3 separate regions of the Homo sapiens genome follow, and regions 2 and 3 are each linked to region 1. The links are contacts of gene promoters, found by promoter capture Hi-C in blood cells and fetal thymus (Javierre and others, 2016). All regions are on one chromosome and are shown on one strand. The core of a region is centred on a gene start or on the middle of the fragment in contact, and the rest is flanking DNA. Distances in the headings are between cores, read along the strand shown.

Region 1 (3,341 bases), core at 455-2,954:
TTCTCCCTTCCCATCCTTAGCCAGACAAGACCAAGGGGTCCCCAGCCTGGGTCTGGACTCCAGAAGCCCCTGAACAGGTCTTGAACAGGTCTTCCTCTCCCATTTCTCATCCCCACGCCCTTCTTTCTGTGTCTGGGGCACCAATAACTAACTCTCTTTCTCGACCACATATGGGGGAGTTGGCAGTGGAAATGTCTATAGGTTTGAGCTCAATATACCAAAGAGGCAAGGAAAACTTTACAATGCTGGGGAGGGATTCTAGCCTCCTCTCCACTCCCTCTCCAGAGATTTTGGATCTTCTGTTCCCTCAACAATCAGGAAATTCGTGGCCAGATTTTTAAAATAAGTCAGGAAAGGAAAAAAATAAATCTCACATTTCTGTAGACCCCAGCAAATTAGTCCCCTATTTAAAAAATACTGTCTAGTGCCTGAACGATCCTGCGAATTCTGTCAAAGAAAGTGGGGGTTCTTATTCTCCGCCCTCCCCAGTTATTCGGTGGGTTGGGGGTTTTGTCCTGGATTCCAAGGCACTATAGGCCCACCCCGCCCCCATCCCTTGCCGGAAGCAGGTTTAGGGGCCAAGAGCCCGGCGGGAGGCTGGAGCCTGCAAGGGGAGGCGGAGGCGAGCTACCGGACAGAGCAGAGCCGGCGGCCCGGCTTTCGGGCGCCTGTGATTGCTTCATTCTCGGCCGGGCAGCTACAGAGAACGTGTCGGAGCAGATTTCTTCCCCGGCGCATTCCTCAGTGCAGCTCGCCCGGCCGGCTCCATAGGCAGCCCAGCCGAGCGGGCGCGCCGGGGCCAGACGGCGGGGGTGGTTGGGGCGCGGAGCCCCGGGGCAGGCAGGGCGGGGAGGGGTCCCCGGCGGCGGCGGCGCTCGGGTCCCTTCCTTACCTGGGAAGGGAGACTTCCAGAGGTGGGCGGACTGCGACTGCTCCTTGGAGCAGTACACCTGACTGTCCCAGCCATTGGAGAGAGCCCAGTGCTGGTAGCCTTCGACGGGGATGAGGGCGTCGTGACGCGGCTCCGGGTGCCCGCTGATCCCGGGCACCACCGACACGTCCAGGTAGCCGGGCATCGCCTGGTAGGAGCTGGCGAAGCTGGGGTAGAAGGCGAACTCCTTGGCCCTAGAGGACAGGTCGTCACCGGGCAGGGCGCCCGACGGCTCCGGGTATTTATCGCCCGGGTGGTAGGCGCAAGGCTTCTGCTGCAGGTTCACGTTGTGCGACAGGCGGCAGCCGTAGTAGCTGCCCCCGAAGGGGTAGCCGTAGCCCAGGGTGGCGCTGGACGAGGTGGGGGGTGCGGGCGGCGGGGCACACTGGCGCGCCGCCTCCGGGGCCGGGATGTCCGTATAGACGGCGCCCTGAGGGGCGCCCAGGGGAGCCGGCGGGCGGCCCAGCACGGGGTGCGGAAGCAGGTCGCGGCAGTGGCTGGCCGGGCAGCTGCTGCCCAGACCATCCATGCTCGGGGCTTTGCCGGGGCTCGCTCCGCTGCAGCCACCCCCCGCTCCGCCCGTGCCGCCGCCTCCTCCTCCGCCGCCGCCGCCGATGCCGCTCTCCGCCGCGCTGTCCTCATAGACGTACATAAGGCTCTCCGGCCAGCGTGGATGCAGGAGCAGCGAAGTCGTCATGACATGATCTGCTGGAGCTTTTTAAAAACTCCACTTGCCAGAGGCAGCGAGCTAGGGAGACACCTCGCTCCTGTTTCCCCTCCCCCCATCCCTCCCCTCTTTTCTCTCCACCCCTCCCCTCCTCCTAGTGCTTCCACCTCCCTCCCTACATTCCCTCTACGCATGCGGAGACACTTCATTAAGAAATCCGCCGGCTCCCGCTCTCCACCTCTCAGCACCCCTCCCGCGCCCACGTGACCCGCTCTGCGCACGTGATGCCCCGGCCAGGTCTCCTGGGGTTCCCTCCCCTCGAGGTGGGGCGGGGCGAAAGGGAAAAAGTCTGTGCTGATTGGATCTCAGGTAGGCCAAAGGAGGCGGGAGCTGGGAGATTTAAAGGGACAGGGAGACGCCCCCGGCAGGCCCCAGGGAGGGAGAGGGAGGGGGGGGAGGCTGAATTTGGCCGACGCAAAGGGGTGTAGGGAGGAGAGCGCTGTAACTGGGCGCCTCCGCCTAGGCATAGGATGTGCACCGGAGAGACAGACCCCCTACCGCCAAGCCGATCACTGTGACTGCTGAAGTCTCTGGATTGGGGCTTGAAGCTAAGGGTGGGGAAGAAACCAGGTTTTAAAAAATAATAAATGAAGATAATAGAAAACAGTCAGGAGCGCTCTGGCCCTGGCAGCTCGCCTCCGCTCGCGGCTGGAAAGAACCCGATGCTGCGTAGCGAGCCTTTGATGCCGGGATTGTGTTTCCATTTCCTACCTTCAGCCACATTCCCCAAAACTCTAGATGTCTGAAAAGGACACTCTGCTTTACCTCGCTGGATTTTTCTCAAGCGGAGAGGGGTGTGACAACCCCCAAATACAGAATTCATCACCTGGGGCAGGGGATCGAGAGGCAATGGAATATACTCGGCAATAAATGGAGAAAGAATAAAACGAGGGAAATAAAAGCAATAGAATAGACTGATATTTCAATATGTAATAGAAATAAAAAATCTCAGAGTGAGGTTTTTCAAAGAAATGCGGGTGGTGGGGGCGCAAGATTCAGCCTGGGAAAGCTAAAAGCCCTGGATGCGAAGGAGAGCGCGCTTTCTATAGGTATACAAAAGAAAACGTGGAAAATGGGGGAGATTCAGTGCTACACCTTTGGAGGGACCTCTCTCTGGCGCCACTCTGGGGGACCCTGCAGAACCCACCTCTGCCCTCAGGGGCCTGGGTTAAGCCACATGACACAGTCCCCAGTTTGAATACCCGCAATGGAGCTCCCACGGCTTTCTTAGGTCACCCTCTTTTAGTGAGGAATAGTTTCATGATCTAAAACTGCCCCCTATTTCAAAGAAAAAATTAACACCAACTTACTGATTCTTCAAAAGCTCTCCCTTCTTTCCTCCCAATCTCCCAACTTGTCAGGAGCCTCAATAGAGTCACCCCTTTCTAAGGGAGCATCTCCGTGGAATTGAGTCAAGTTCCCTTTCAGCACAGGACCTCCCTGAGAAATCGTAATGAAGAGAGAAAAATAAGAGGGGAAAGGGGCTGCAGCGTTTCCTTCTTTCCTCCCTCTGCCACAGGTTTTAAATGCTGAGTGCTCGTGTGCAGCCAGCGCACAGACCATGGCCACAGAGCAGCGCCTCGCTCAGCCAGACCTACTGCACCCCTCAAGTGGAGAGCAAATGGACAGGTCTGCAGAAACCCCTTCGGGCCACCTCCCTCCTCTTTGTGGGGAGAAGGTGGT
Region 2 (3,341 bases), core at 537-3,036, 120 kb before region 1:
ATGACTCACGCCCAGCTCTGTCCCTGCCCATCGGATTTGAGAAGTGTTTCCCCTTTTACAAAAGCCCTAAGCCTAACCTGACATCCAGAAACAAAGGCCAGAAAACCGAAGAGGGCAATTCTCCCTATAACTGGGAGAGAAGGGGACATTCTTGGCTGGAATTCCTCTGATGGAGGGGATTGTTGGTTTGATGGCCTGGGATCCTTCAGGGCCTTCCTGAGTCCCGGGTCGAGAACGCTTCCACTGATACCTAGATCTCCCCTCTCCATCCCCACAAAGATCCTGAGAGGGTCCCATTTCCTGCTCTTGTACCTCGGAGAAAACTATCTTTTAATTTCTAAAGAAAATGAAATCTCATTATTTGGAGGTGGTAGCCGTAGGGTATTGGTCAAGGAGCGATTGAGGGTCCTCTCAATTTTCCACGAAAAGATGGAAGGTGAGATAGGAGGAAGAAAGGAGAGGCTGGGATCTAAAGGGCGAGACCCTCAGGCCCAGCGGAGTTCACCGCGCAGTGAACCCGCTCAGCTGGCCACGCATCCCGCGCTCCCCGCCCCGCGCCCCTATTGTCCGCCCAAGCCCGGGGTCGTGACCCAGCTGAAGGCGACACCGCGCCCAGGGCGGACGTGGCGTGGAACCCAGAGGAGGAGCCTGGCTGCCGCTGGCCCTTGAAACTTCGTCTTTGCCCCGGCTGGCCCCATTTCGCGATCCTCAAGACCCTGGCCTCTGTGAGAAGGGGAGCTGGGACACCCCCACCCCATGAAGACAGTCACATTTTGCCCCATTCTCTCGCGGCCAGGCTTCCCGGGAAGCCAGAGCTCCAGAGTGGAACCTAGGGTTTGGCTATCTGGCAGTGCCTCCTGCACACTCGGTTCCAGGGTTTTTTTCTGCCTGGAAATTAAAATACTGTATACTTTCCTCTCCCGATCTTTGATGCTGGGAAAAGAGGGAGTCAGAAAGGAGGAGTGAGTAGAAGCGACACTATTTTGGCTTCACTCATACCCCATCGAGGCAGGCAGAGCTGACCCTAGAGGATGCTGCCTATTCAGGAATCTGAAAATTGTTGATGGGGCCCGGAAATTTAAAATAGTCCCTTCCTCTTTATTAGGCTCTGTAACCCTAATCGCCCTCAAACATAGTCTGATATTCCCTACCCATCCTTGTCTTCCCTTCCTCCTGATTTATCCTCCAGGCCTGGCAGAAAGTGGAAGCAGGAAGATGAGGCTGCAGAGGCCCTTATCCCGGCAGGCCTGGATGTGGGCTCTGCTGGATTGGCCCTGCGTTCAAAGAGCTACGGAACTGACACCAGAGAGAAGAGAAGAAAAACCCGGAGGAGTGGAGGGAGAGCCAGGGGCTCCTGGCATTGGAGGGCTGATGAGCAAAGCTCCAGATCAGCTTTAGCTTCTTTCTGCTCCCCAAGCTCCAAAGGGGTCTGAGCTCCTTGAGCTGCGCAGGTTTTAAAATGTTCGAGGGCTCCTCACAGATCTGTAGCTCAGAGTTCACTGCCCCCATTTTTAATTATCAAGAGGCAGCTAAAACTCCAACACCCGGAGCAGCCACACGCTGCAGGAGAAAAATCAAAATGGGGCTGGCAATGCAGGGTGCAGAAAAAGCAGGCTGAGAAGGGTGGTCAGCTCTATCAAAAACATTGGTAAGAGGCAAAGACTTTTTTTTTTTTTAACAAATCCCCCAAATGTTTATTTTGGGCTCCTGCCCATCCAGATAAATCAAGCTAACAGATTAGGAAGTTCATAAAATTGTATTCTTAGGTAATGACATCCAGAGAGGTAATAAATATTCCCTCTGCTCTGGTGGCCGCTGGAGTTCTGGTGTTCAGGGATCTTCCATCTCTCATTCCAAGCCTGAGAGGGGTCTCTTGGAAGGGGAACATTTAAATTAAAATTAGCTCTCCATAGGTGCAGTGCCAGATAGAAGCTGTGGAAAACCCGGAGCGGTGGTTTTGTGAGTGCAATAGCTTGCTCCCCCAGGACTGGGCAAAAGGCAGAGAAAAAGATGGTACAGTTGCTCCAGCGCACTGCTCCTCCCCGTCATAGCACCCTTGATCTTAAGGGCCCCTTTCAGAGTCAGTCTCCCCTAATCCTAGAAAAGCAGAGAAGGACACCCTGGCTCCAAGCTCCCAGCAAACCTTTTAATTGTTTTCACTTCCCTACAACTCCCCCCAACACACACACACACACACACACACACACACACACACACACCCCTAGCTGTGGGAAGCTGTCTCTGGATTTCAATCTGCCAAGTCCAAGCAGAAAGAAAACTGAAGCACAGATTGCAGAGAAAACTTTGTAGGAAACTTCACACAAACAGCAGCAAGAGACCCTCGGAAAGGCAAAGTGCCCCAGTCCTTTTCCCTCAGTCTCACTTTCTCAGACTCTCTCTTTTTTGAGCCAAATTTCTTTACTCCCCAGGTACACAGACTCAGCACAGAACCGTCTTTTTCTCCAAGCAGAACCCCTCCGCTTACAATTGGATTTCCCGCCTTCCCTGCCTAAGACCGGGAGTTGAGACAAAAATTGAGTGGCAAATAAGAGTTTAAACTTTTGTGCTCCTCACCCCCAGAGCAGACCGAGTGCTAACTACTTACGTGTCAATGGGATCTTTGGCCTGTGGGGATCTCCTGGCGCTTGGAGAGAAGGAACCCTGGAAGATTGGTGTCGACATTTCACCCGTCTTCTTTTTACTTAGCCATTGAAGAGAGAGGGATACAATGCACTTACAGGCATTCATGCGCCTTGCCTCTCCCATTACTCTGGGCAAGAAATCCCCAGTCCTACAAAAGCAGTGGCATCCTATCTGGAGACCAGGGCTGAGCAAGGGCTGGCTTGGGAGGGTCAGAGATGGGGGTGGGGGAGAGGTCAGAGGCGCTGCCGAATATAAAGGCAATGGGAGAGAAAATGCTGTGTCCTCCCCGTGAACCTGGGCTGTGTCCTCCCCCCAGCCTTTCCCCACTGCTCAACCCAACTTAAATAAAAGCCCAGCCCTCAGCTTCCCAGCGAGGCTGTAGCAGCATCAGGCAGAGCAGCAGGGACCAAGACTGCTGGAGCTTGGGGCCCTCGGCCCAGACTGGCCCCCCACATCCCAACCCTGCCATGCCATTCTGGGTTGCCAAGTCCAAGGCAAAGGAGAGCTTTGGGGAAAGGGGAGAAAATGGAGCCCACTGGAGGGAAGGCCAGAGGCCAAAATCTTCAAACTCAAATGTAAGGGATTTTAGTTTGGGTTCATTTGTCAAGAATTATGGATTTCTGATGTTTCCCCTTTTCAGACCAGAAAGAACAGAAGGAGACACATGCAGAATGACCATGTATGTGAGGGAAGAGGAA
Region 3 (3,341 bases), core at 628-3,127, 100 kb before region 1:
AGGCTCTGAGGCTATTTACTGTCAATGTTAGTTCCTTTGTGACTGAGGGGTTGGGGGACCAGGGACTGCATGGGCAAAAGGAAATGAAACGTTGCATTATTTTTTAGGGGAAAACTTTGAGGGAAAAAAAAATCACCAATTAGCCTTTTAAAAAAGAAATTGGAGTCAGAGGATTTTGAAGACTCCAGATGCTCTGTTATATTTCTCCTTTAGTTTACTGGGGAAGGGAGGAAAGGAGGGGCCTCAGGTGGGCTTGGGGAAGTGCAATCCAATCTGCCAAGCCAGCTTTGGGGGAGAGTGATTTACAAAGCAAAACCTCAGATGCTACTTCCTGAGAAGTCACCAGATCAAAACACCCTACTCTAGGCGTTTATGACCCTGTCTTTACTCCCAACAGGAAAAGCACCCTCAATAAAACCTCAGCCTGTGCCCCCATCCTCCACCCAGGGGATGGGGAGAGACACAACATAAAATGAAAGACCTGACCCTTACTACTCCCTAAACACACACACACACACACACACACACACACACACACACACACACACACAGCCTGTGTTTTCCAGCCAGAAAGTTGACTTTTAAAAGAAGTATTTACTAGACAAGATTTATCTCTAATGTCTGAGCAAGGGAGCCCTGAGGAGTTTGGAGTTTGAGCTTGGAACAGAAGGAGAGGGGGATTAGATCAGATAAGATTCTGGCCTCCTTGGACCCTCCATGTCTCTTCAACTCCTGACAACTCAATCTGGGCCAACACAACACTGAAGATCACAGAAAGCCTGGCTGCCACCATCCCTGGAGTCAGCTCTAGCGTTTGAGTTTTCCAGAAAGGCAGAAGGAAGGAAACTCAACAGCTGCGCAGGGCTTGAGGGGTGGGGGTGGGGTGGGGAGGACAAATGGTTTCCAAGCTGGGCTGACGGGAAGAATGGAGTGGGAGGGAGGAGTGGGAAGTTGGTTCCATGCTGGTTACTGTGTCCAGCCCAGGCTTCTGACCTCTACCATACCATCCTTGGGCACATATATGTGTTTCTGTGTGTTCAGGTATTCTGGTGTTCAGGGCCAGGGGCTGGGGTAAATGAGAATCTTTAGAGGGCAGAACCAAGCCTGAACTGCCTCTCTGAGACCTGTGGTGCAGAACTGAAAGGATCCTAGGTGACCAGGCTACACATTTCACCCAGCCCATATGGGGTTGCAGATCACTGTAGAACTTTCTCTGTACATGTGTACAGATGCAGAGAAGCAGCCTTCTCCCTGCACTTGCTCCCCAGCATGCCTGGAGCAGTGGACCGGCTCAGGGCCCAGCCCAAGTGTTCAACCTCTTCTCATAGCTGCTAAAATGTGGTCCTTAGAGGCTGAACAAGGTCCTGCATAACCGAGTCCAATTTTCCCAAGTCCCACATTGCACACCCATACCGCTTCCTCTGAGGTATCTCTGTTCCCCTTTTGCCTCTCAGTGAACCTTAGGATTGGGAGAGGGAGATGATTACAAGGGTTGTGTAGGCCTCAAAAATAAAGAGATTTGTATCACCGAAGTTCCTCAACCCAGACCTTGTCTGGCAATTCCTTGGGCTCCTGGAGCCCCATCAAAGCTGCTAGCAGAGATAGTATCAGTACAGACACACCAATGTGGGTCACAAGGAGCCAATAAAAGTTGGGAGGGGTAGGAAAGGATGTGACTTTCTTGGCTCTCAAACAGCATCGTCTTCTCCTTAAATTGAATCATTCACCCCAAAACCCTAGTTTGGCACCCTGATTTCAGATTTTCTTTCTCCTTCACCTCAAAGGGCTTCAGGGGCCCTAGTCCCACTAAAGAAGAGGCTCAGGGTGGTGGTGCTTGTCTTCTCAGCAAAAAGGACCTAATTAAATCCTAGAACAATGATGTTTCAGCATTCCCCCTCTCAAAAACTCAGTCCAAAGCAGTTACAGAGAACGACAGTCAAAAAGAGAAAGTTTACCTTTTTGAGGCACTCACAAGGAGGGGTCGAGGCACTCACAAAATCTCTTTTCCCAGTGCCTGTGTGGATAGAACCAATCTCCCCCTGTCTTTGTTTCCTAACTCTTCATGAGATCTGGTACCCCAGTGTGAGAAGTCCACATTGAGGGTGAGAGTTGGTCTCCAACAATCTGCCACACCATTCACTGGGGAAGAATAAGTGTGTCCTTTAATTCTAACTCATAAAAGAGGCAAATGGGGCTGGCCACGGTGGCTCATGCCTGTAATCCCAGCACCTTGGGAGGCAAAGGCAGGCGGATCATCTGATGTCAGGAGTTTGAGACCAGCCTGACCAACACGGAGAAACCCTGTCTCTATTAAAAATACAAAATTAGCCAGGCGTGGTGGTGCATGCCTCTAATCCCAGCTACTCAGGAGGCTGAGGCAGGAGAATCGCTTGAACCCAGGAGGCAGAGTTTGCGGTGAGCTGAGATCCTGCCATTGCACTATAGCCTGGGCAACAAGAGTGAAACTCCATCTCAAAAAAAAAAAAAAAAAAGAAAAGAAAAGAAAAGGCTGGGCGCGGTGGTTCACACCTGTAATCTCAGCACTTTGGGAGGATGAGGCGTGTGGATTACCTGAGGTCAGCCTGGGCAACATGATTAAATCTCATCTCTGCCAAAAATACAAAAATTAACTGGGTGTGGTGGTGGGCACCTGTAATCCCAGCCACTTGGGAGGTTGAGGCAGGAGAATCACTTGAACCCAGGAGACAGAGTTTGCGATGAGCCGAGATTGTGCCATTGCACTCCAGCCGGGGCGACAAGAGTGAAACTTAGTCTCAAAATAAGCAGATGGAGCAGTGTGGTTGAAGGTAACTTGAAAAGTGAGGGCTCAATGATTTCTGAGAAGAGCTGCTCTTTTTCTGGCTTCTCATCCTTATCCTTCCCACCTGGCCTGTGGCATTGTCCCCAAACCAGCTCCATCCAGAAGACAAACAATGAGGGGATTGTTGACAAAGCCCAGCTCAGTCCGGACTATCCTTCCCATTCTTGTACTCTTAATGCCCCCAGGGGGGTGCTTAGAGGTCCAGGTGCCACAGTCCATCAGAACTCCTGCCCCTTAGCTCAAAGAGGGCAAGAGATCAGGAAGAGAAGGGGAGGAGAACCCAACCAGAAAATTCACTCTGAAACAAAGCTCTAGAGAAGTGGCTGGGGGAGAATACCTGGGTCTGGACCCAGCAGTGGACTGGCTCAGGGCCCAGCCCAAGTGTTCAGGAAACACAAGCATTTCTGTCATAGCTGTGCACTCCCTGTGCCATCAGATGCTCTTACTCAGCAATAGTTTCTCGCCTATTGCTTGTTCTTGGCCTAATCCATGTAAACTCAAACACTGAAATCCACACCTT

Evidence for each region. The method cuts DNA at HindIII sites, captures the fragments that hold promoters and counts their contacts. A CHiCAGO score of 5 or more calls a contact.
Region 2: a contact is called between a fragment that was not itself captured here and the fragment with the promoter of HOXC13 in region 1, in 1 of 17 cell types (total B cells). The highest score is 5.1, in total B cells.
Region 3: a fragment that was not itself captured here is called in contact with the fragment with the promoter of HOXC13 in region 1 in 2 of 17 cell types (naive B cells and total B cells); the score reaches 5.4 in naive B cells.

What each region holds. Positions count from the first base shown.
Region 1 is chr12:53,937,194-53,940,534 of GRCh38, reverse strand. HOXC13 (homeobox C13) reads right to left here and starts at 1,704. Exons shown (of 2, transcript NM_017410.3): 1 at 893-1,704. The coding sequence starts at 1,628. HOXC13-AS (HOXC13 antisense RNA) reads left to right here and starts at 892. Exons shown (of 3, transcript NR_047507.1): 1 at 892-1,064; 2 at 3,178-3,341. The HindIII fragment of the contact is 9,814 bases long and covers 1-3,341 here.
Region 2 is chr12:54,057,829-54,061,169 of GRCh38, reverse strand. It overlaps FLJ12825 (a long non-coding RNA gene), which reads right to left and starts at 2,916. Exons shown (of 2, transcript NR_026655.1): 1 at 2,606-2,916. RefSeq lists an enhancer at 3,018-3,341. The HindIII fragment of the contact is 9,317 bases long and covers 1-3,341 here.
Region 3 is chr12:54,041,129-54,044,469 of GRCh38, reverse strand. It overlaps a transcript of HOXC4 not described here. Among named protein-coding and RNA genes, the nearest start is that of MIR615, 8.8 kb to the right of the region's middle. The HindIII fragment of the contact is 4,734 bases long and covers 1-3,341 here.